Linked DNA regions of Homo sapiens: all the other regions are linked to region 3. The links are contacts of gene promoters, found by promoter capture Hi-C in blood cells and fetal thymus (Javierre and others, 2016). All regions are on one chromosome and are shown on one strand. The core of a region is centred on a gene start or on the middle of the fragment in contact, and the rest is flanking DNA. Distances in the headings are between cores, read along the strand shown.

Region 1 (2,780 bases), core at 266-2,765, 340 kb after region 3:
AAAAGCAAACAAAACCTGACACCTTTAATTTCAAAGAGATCTTAAAAATTACTAAGAAAAAACATAAACCCCAATACAAAAATGAGTAAAAAAGAAGCAGGCAAGTCACAAAAGAAGAAAAGGAAATGGCTTAAATAAACTTACAAAAAGATGTTTAACTGCATTAATGTTATAATAAACACAAATCATGTCAAAATCACCATGCCATATTTCGTCTATTACATTAGCAAGCAATGAAATTATGATAACAGAAAAAAACCTTGGAGGTCTACACTAAATAACAGGATAACTATAACAACTAAAGCAAAAATGAAAGCAGCTATAAAGATGGTCTCCTGGAAGGCCGGGCGCGGTGGCTCACGCCTCTAATCCCAGCACTCTGGGAGGCCGAGGAGGGCGGATCACGAGGTCAGGAGATCGAGACCACGGTGAAACCCCGTCTCTACTAAAAATACCAAAAAAAAAAAAAAAAATTAGCCGGGCGTAGTGGCGGGCGCCTGTAGTTCCAGCTACTCGGGAGGCTGAGGCAGGAGAATGGCGTGAACCCGGGAGGCGGAGCTTGCAGTGAGCCGAGATTGCGCCACTGCACTCCAGCCTGGGTGACAGAGCGAGGCTCCGTCTCGAAAAAAAAAAAAAAAAAAAAAAAAAAGATGGTCTCCTGGAAAGAAGGGTAATGATAAGAGGGCATTTGCTGTCTTCTTTATACCTTCGTATACACCAGAGCATGGAATATCCACGAGAATCAGGTATAATATCTATAAGTCATAAGTTTACTATGTGTATATTTATTCACAAAAATTTATAATATATTAAAGCTAATTCAATAATAATAATAAATGTTTATGAGGGAGAATTGAATCTGGCACTTGAACACAATTTGTGGAACTATACAATAGTAAACCTAGACCAGTTGTATCAATATATGATCAGAAGCTATAAAATATATATAACATTTGGCCCCAAATTTCTATTTCTAGGACTTGAGGAAATAATTGGACAATGTAAAAAATATATATATGTGGATTTATATCACAGCATAAAGCCAAAAACTGTAGCAACTCAATTATTAATCACCAGAGGATTGGTTAAAATATGTAATAGTAATAAACATGAAATGGAATAATAATAACCAGGAGGATTATGAGTTAAAATGAAGATGTGGATGTCTATTAATTAATGTGGATGTCTATTAATTAATATGGATGTCTATAATAGATGTGGATGTCCATTAATTAGTGTGGATGTCTATTAATTAACTCTATTAAGAGTTTTATTAAGAGAAAAACATCAGATTACAAAGAAGTATGCATAGAGTGACCTCAGGTTTATCGAAAATAAGTGTGCATAGTTATGTTTATGTCTAAGTATTGAAAAAAATCCTCAAGTACATACACCAACATATTAGCAGATTGTTAGATTAAGACTGCATAGGTAGAAAGGGGCCAGGACCTGGGAATTCGGGAGGTTAGAATAATAGTCTGTATGAGAGAGTGATCCATTTGCAGAAGAAGGCCCAAAACCCAGGTATGTCAGAGCTTAGAGAAATTGCTAGCCATAGAGAGACCAAGATGAGGTGTCAACATGTCCTCATGACTGAGCAGCAACGAATCATGGGAGCCAGGATTGGAGAGTCATGTGGTCAGATGGGAGCACCTGGAGGACAGCTGGGCCACAGTCACATTTCAGTACCTTGAAGGGTAAGTAACCAAAGCAAGTAGGACTTTCTTCAAGGGCAATTACAAGGCTATAGGGTACATCAGCAGAACAGGGGTCAGAGATCAGTATCAGTGTCCCAAATTAGAGGCCCAAGGGCCACCAGTGTGGCATAGTACTGACCTTACAGATTGTGGCTAGAGCAGGATTGGAAGGGAGAAGCCTGATACATTTCAACAGTAAATACGACCCGATCCTGCTCACATATTTCACAATTTTAAGTCATTTTTGGTAACTAAAACAATAACTACAGCAACTAGAAAAAGCAAAATTAAAACAGGTATGAAATCCCCTGAAAATGCCAGTAAAGAGAAAGTAATGAGAACCAGAGGCCAGTGAAAACTGTTGGTGAAAATACTCTGAGAAGAAAGTTTAATTCGCTAATTCATTCATTTATTTTTTTAAAAATTGTCACCTATACAATGTCAGGCATGGCAGGAGGTGTTAGGCTTCGTGGTGAGCAAAGACAAACGAAACAGTCCCCTGACCTTGCAGAATTCCAATTCAGTTTGCTCAGAAGTCCATATAAAATACCAACTACAGTTAAAGAAACAAAATGCACACGATATCAGAACCTGATGTACTCTAAAGTCTTAAAAATAGTTTAGACTCATAAAGACAGAAAAGAAGAAATTTAAGGTTTTCTTCCTTTCGGCTGAGAAAATACCAAAAAATTGCTCTCCTCTATAAATTGGGAGGGGAATACATCTTTTATTCCATCTTGGATTTTTTTAGACTGAAGCATTTATTTTCCCAACGAATCATTTGTTCCCATTTCCCCACCCCATCTTGAGGATTTCTTAGTAATTTCATCGCTTTTTTTTTTCCACAATCATGAAGACAAAAATGCTTACACTCCATTATCAGAGCCTTTCATTTCATAAGCCTTGCAGTCAATGGAGCGTTTCACTGTGCAAGGAAGTGAAGGCAGAATATGTGCGGGGTGGGCCTGGGAGGAGGGGTCTGGATGCCTGAAAATCACACTCACTCAGACACATCAGGGCACAAATTGAGACCCCTAGCAATCCATAAAACCTGTCTGGGAGGCAAGTCTTAACTGTCTGAAC
Region 2 (2,700 bases), core at 196-2,695, 360 kb after region 3:
AAGCCCTGATCTCAGCAAACATGGACAAAGGGAATGAAGCCCTGTTCAGGAACAGGGGCCCCACCCACCTGCAGAAATGGTCCTTTGAGACAAAACTTTGTGTTTAGTTTCCTTACTTAAACAAATTACAGCAAAGAAGCAGGCAAAATAGTGTCACAACCATATAAAAATTGCAAGTGAAGAACCATGGACAGAGATTATACAGGAAAGATATATCAAACTTTAACAGTGGTTACTTTAGGGCAGAGGGACTATAGGTGACTTTGTATCAGAATTATCTACTCTTCTGTTTTCATTCAAGTTTTCTGTATTGAGCAGACAGATTACATAATCAAGGAAAATCCAGCAAATTATTTTTGAAAAGTAAAACATTTTAAAATTTAAAAGGGACGCAAGTTGAAGTGAGACTGATTTTGTAGTTACTATAAAAGAAATCATCAGAGCAGTACACGCCAAAAGACCACAAGCTCCCTGAAGGCAGAGGCTCTTCCATATGCTCAGTACACAGCCCTGTTTCTTCCCTCCCAGAGAAGACAGAGACATCAGAAGGGCTACACTTGACTTCTTACCTTTGGATTCATAAATGTATTTGCACTTGCATTGGCCTCTCCCTCCCACTGCAACATGGGAAGAAGAGTTTTATCAAAAGCAAATCCGCCAACTCTGTTCTGGGTCCCATCCATTCGTGCCATCCGATGGGGTCTCAGCCACAGGAACCCCCTCTGCTGCTCATCCTCTCTTTCTTGCATCTCCAGGCTTCCCCACTACTGGCTCTTAGCTGTCAGTATTTAAATAATCTGTTTTCTCCCATTTTGAAAAATTCCTTCCCAATTTCAGTCCTCCTCTTCCCTTTTGCAGCCAAATGTGCCACGGAGCTATTTAAACATGCTGCCTCCTGTTCCTGTCATTTGCTTTCCAGTCTACTCTGTTCTGGCTTTGGTCCTTACTGCTCTATGGAAAGTTCCCTTACTAAAGCCACCAATGACTTTGCCGTCACATAATCCAGTGGGTTCTTTTCAGTCCTTTCTTCATCAACTTCAATGTAGCTTTGTCACTCTCTCAGTCAGAGTGACTCTGACCACTCTTGGTTCCTTGAAACATTCTTCTAGTGACTTCCATGATACAATCAACCAGTTTTCCTTTTACCTCTTTGGCTCTCTCTGCTCAGATTAAGGTCTTCTTTTCCATCTGAAGTCTAAACATTAGTATTCTTCAAAAACTGGACCTCTGTCCTCCTCTTTTATCACTCTACATTCTGCTAGTAAAGACCTTTGTCAACATCTATTTTTCAAATACCATAAACAGGATATGTTGACAATTTGTTAATTCATATTTCCAACTCAGGCCCTGCTTCTGAGCTCCAGCCTAGTCTATACAACTGTTTTTTGATTTTTTTATACTTGAATGTCTCACAGGTAGCACAAACTGAATATGTTAAAAATGGAACACATGATCTTACTTATACCAGAATACAGCCTATTCTTCACCTAATATTTCCCATCTCAGTAAATACCAACATCTGGAGTTTGCTCATGCTGAAAACCAGAAAATCATCCATCTTTGACCACTCTCTTTCTTCAATTCTCACATAAAATCAATCACTTCTGACAATGACAGAGAGGCAGGAAATGAATTTACTCTCACATTTTAAACAACTAAAAATCTGGACAAAATATATGAAACAATGATTGGACATCAGGTAATGAAGATATGTGATCCTTGAGTGACAGGAAACAAATGAGGCAAGAACTAAAACTGCCCATGTCACCACCTGGAGAAAGTTTCAGAGACACAGTACAGACAGGTGAAAACCCAGGCAGAGCCTAGTGGGCTCCCTCAGTTGAGGAAACGGACTTGGGAGTCTGGAGAGGCCATCCCCCCTAGAATTTGCAGGGTAGAGTACCAGAGAAGAGAACGATAAACAATGAGAGAGCTCGAGAGACCTGTCTTAGAAAATATTGCTGAGGGAAGGTAAAGACGATGTACTAAATGGAGAGAGATACACTGTTTGTGATGGGAAGACTCACTATTTTTAAGATTCCTATTATTTCCAAATAATAGAAAGTGATTCTATATTTAATGCAACCCCAATAAAAATTCAAGTGTGTGTGTGTGTGTGTGTGTGTGTGTGTGTGTAAAATAATGAGCTGATTATAAAATTCATATGGAAATGCAAAAGACCTAGATAACTAAAACAACTTTGACAAAGTAGGGTAAAGTTGCAGCACTTACACTATTTGATTTCAAGATTTATAAATCTGCAATCAAGACACTGTGATATTGGAGTAAAGCTAGACAAATAGAGCGATGGAAAAGAATAGAGAGTCCAGAATAGACTCATATATATGATCAATTATTTTCTTCAAAGGTGCAAAAGACAATTGTGTGGATAAAATATAGACTTTTCAACAAATGGTGCTGGAACAACTTTATAGTATACACACACATATGCATTCACAAGAAAGAACTTCAAACCATATCATACTATACATAAAAATTAACTCAAAATGGATTGTAGTTATAAATGCAAGAGCTAAAATGATAGAACTTCTAGAGTAAAACAGTAAAAAAAAATACTGTATAAATTTGGATTAGGCCAGGACTTCTTTGACACGCCACTGAAAACATACCCTATAAAAGATGAAATTGAGTAAATGGACTTGAGCAGAATTAAGAATGTCTCTCTTTCAAAAGAAAGTG
Region 3 (2,827 bases), core at 220-2,719:
CATTCTTTCAGTATAGAGTCAAATTTTATTGTCCTATGCTATGTGCCTACTTTAGGCTTGTCAAGTTTAGTGCATCCTAGGCCCACACTAGGTCTTTCTGCACTTTTGACATTAACAGTATACACATTTTAGACAGAATGTAGTGAATTTGGGGTCAGAAAGGCCATATTCCTAGTCAAGTTGCTCTCAAAAGTGATTGATAAAACACAATAGCAATTTAAAGGGAGCTTGCTGTCAAAGAAAGATTGAGACTTTGATTAGGGCTTAGACATTGATTGATTACCTCTTGGGGCTATCACTCCATACCAATAGCCAAAAATGTTTGGCATCAGGATTACAGTAGTTATAGATAAAGCCTCAATAGAGGTTTGAGTTTCCTTCTTTCCATAAGGCTACATTCTTGATTAGTGTACCTAAATATGTAGTGCTTACAAATGTTAAGTTTTTACACCTTCTCTGTTTTGCATTTATATTATTTGTATGTGTTGTATTTTCATACTTTTTTGTACAAAGACAAAAGTTGCCAAAAGGAAATTAAGAGCTTTTGGGCTGACATTTGTTATTTTTAGTGGGTAACTTATAAAAGTTGACAGAAAAATGTTATATTTCTATCTGGTCATAGATGGCATTGACCATCCTATAAATATTTCTCACACACTGACCATGTGCCCAAAACTCGTTGAGGAAAGAGGAAAATGTACAGGTAATCATAGCCACTTTACTCTCCCAAGCATCTACCAGGCATAGAAGTAAAGGAGATTTAGTGTTTCCCTTCTATAAATACAAAAATGATAGGAGAATGCAGAGTCACAAATGCCCCAATGTACAGTATCCTAGATGACTTTCTAACAGCAGGGCTTCCTGAGTGTGACACCCAAATATCTTTCCACTTCTCTCATTCACCAACATATGTTTATAATAACCATGTAGTTACATTTGCAAAATAAGATAAATAAAAATATTTTAGAATATTGGCTGGGCGTGGTGGCTCACACTTGTAATCCCAGACCTTTGGGAGGGCAAGGCAGGCAGATCCCTTGAGCCCAGGAGTTTGAGATCAGCCTGGGCAACATGATGAAACTCCATCTCTGCCCAAAAAAATTATATACATTTGGATGGGTCGTTTGCAAAAAAGTAGGGAAGTGTACCCTTGCAAACAAGGACAACATTGATAGTCAATCTTCTTATAGAAAGTGGTAAAAGTGGTAAGCTCTACAAAGGAGCAAGTAATGTTTGCAGATGCAAATCTTACATGCTAACCACTTTGCTAGCCAGATACACTCTGGAGGAATCAACTAATTGGTGTAGGTGTAATAGGATATGTAATATTGCTTGATCAAGACTCTGCTTCTGTGGTTGTTTCTCCACATCTTCCAAAAGATCTTTGCGAAACACTACATTCAGAAACATCAGATGGACATGCTTGATTCACCACGTCTTGGTTAATGAATAAACTTGTTTTAAATTGGCTTATTGCTGGTCTCTCAAGGCTTCCTATTTTTGTTTGCTTTAGTCTCTCTAAAATTTCAGGGAAAAACTATGAGTCTCAAAATGCTTATAAGCAGGAACAAGCTGATTTTACTACTAGGAATAGTCTTTTTTGAACGAGGTAAATCTGCAACTCTTTCGCTCCCCAAAGGTAAGTTTCAAATGAACTCTATAATTACCTTTGTCTGAACCTTTGCTGGCAATGGACGTCACAACTCCGAGACTCCATGTTCCTTTGGGAAAATAGGAGAAGCAAATATATTTTGGATATCTAATTGTTTTTAAACAATTATTTTGGACTTATCTCCTGCAATCGGCATAGGACACAGGGTGAAACATTTATAGAATGCAACTAATGTATCCAATTAAGTAAACAATCCCTGTTTTCTTCGCTTAGTTTTCCTAAGTGAACTGAGATTGTTCACTTACTTGAACCCATTACATAATCCCATCTTGGTTCATAGAGCAAATTCTGGAAATCAGCATGGATTTGGAAGCATTTTTAATCTTTTACAAAATCATCTTGCTGAGAAATATGAAGCATGTTCACTGTAGTATATTATAAATGGTCTTTTTTCCCCTTCAACTAACTTAAGCTGAAAACAGTTCTTGGAAGATTTCTCCTTGGTCAGACTTGTGCCAACCCTGAGAATCAACATGTTTTCTGACTTTGCTTTACTGAATTTGGGAAATAGTAAATTTTGTATTTAAAGTATTTATGACTCATTCAACTGAAACAGTTAGAAAATAAGCTTTTGTTCCAATGTCATCCTGGCACTGGGTTCAGGATCAAAACACTTACTGTTACATTCATGCTCTGCCATTATCCAGCTGTGTGTCTCCTTGATTCTCAGTTTTCTCATCTGCAATGTGGGGATAACAGTGCTTCATTTATAGGCATAGAGTGGGATTAAATGAGAAGCTGTATGAAAGAGCTTTGAATATTTTAACATGTTGATCTAAATAGCTATACTCTTAAGGATGTGTTCTCAAGAAAAGTCATTTGTTTGTCCATCCAGTGTTTCTAAGTGCTTACTTATGCCAAGAATTAAGCTAAACCTTAGAAATGCAGAGGTGAATAAGGCAAGTTTTTTCCCTTGAGTAGTTCATAGTCCGATGATAGAGGCAAATAATTCATTATCACAATTCTGCATGACAAGAACTATAAAAGGGGTGAAGAAAGCGTGCTACACAACACAAGGGAGAGGCAATCCCACTTTGAGGAAATCAAGGAAGACTTCCTGGTTGAGGTGATCTCCAAGCTGAGGAATAAGAATTACAGAATTTAGGTAGGCAATGAAGCATGGTGATTATGAAGCAAGGCTAGTTCTAATCCTCC

The links. The method cuts DNA at HindIII sites, captures the fragments that hold promoters and counts their contacts. A CHiCAGO score of 5 or more calls a contact.
Region 1: a contact is called between a fragment that was not itself captured here and the fragment with the promoter of OVCH2 in region 3, in 1 of 17 cell types (M1 macrophages). The highest score is 5.0, in M1 macrophages.
Region 2: a fragment that was not itself captured here is called in contact with the fragment with the promoter of OVCH2 in region 3 in 2 of 17 cell types (M2 macrophages and M1 macrophages); the score reaches 6.5 in M2 macrophages.

What each region holds. Positions count from the first base shown.
Region 1 is chr11:7,364,942-7,367,721 of GRCh38, reverse strand. The region is part of intron 3 of SYT9 (synaptotagmin 9); the gene reads right to left. Among named protein-coding and RNA genes, the nearest start is that of SYT9-AS1, 100 kb to the left of the region's middle. The HindIII fragment of the contact is 4,159 bases long and covers 1-2,780 here.
Region 2 is chr11:7,344,366-7,347,065 of GRCh38, reverse strand. All of the region lies in intron 3 of SYT9 (synaptotagmin 9), which reads right to left. Among named protein-coding and RNA genes, the nearest start is that of SYT9, 94 kb to the right of the region's middle. The HindIII fragment of the contact is 3,004 bases long and covers 1-2,700 here.
Region 3 is chr11:7,705,119-7,707,945 of GRCh38, reverse strand. OVCH2 (ovochymase 2) reads left to right here and starts at 1,469. Exons shown (of 16, transcript NM_198185.7): 1 at 1,469-1,639. The coding sequence starts at 1,552. LOC105376533 (a long non-coding RNA gene) reads right to left here. Exons shown (of 11, transcript XR_007062576.1): 7 at 2,291-2,351; 8 at 1,668-1,721. The HindIII fragment of the contact is 6,680 bases long and covers 1-2,242 here.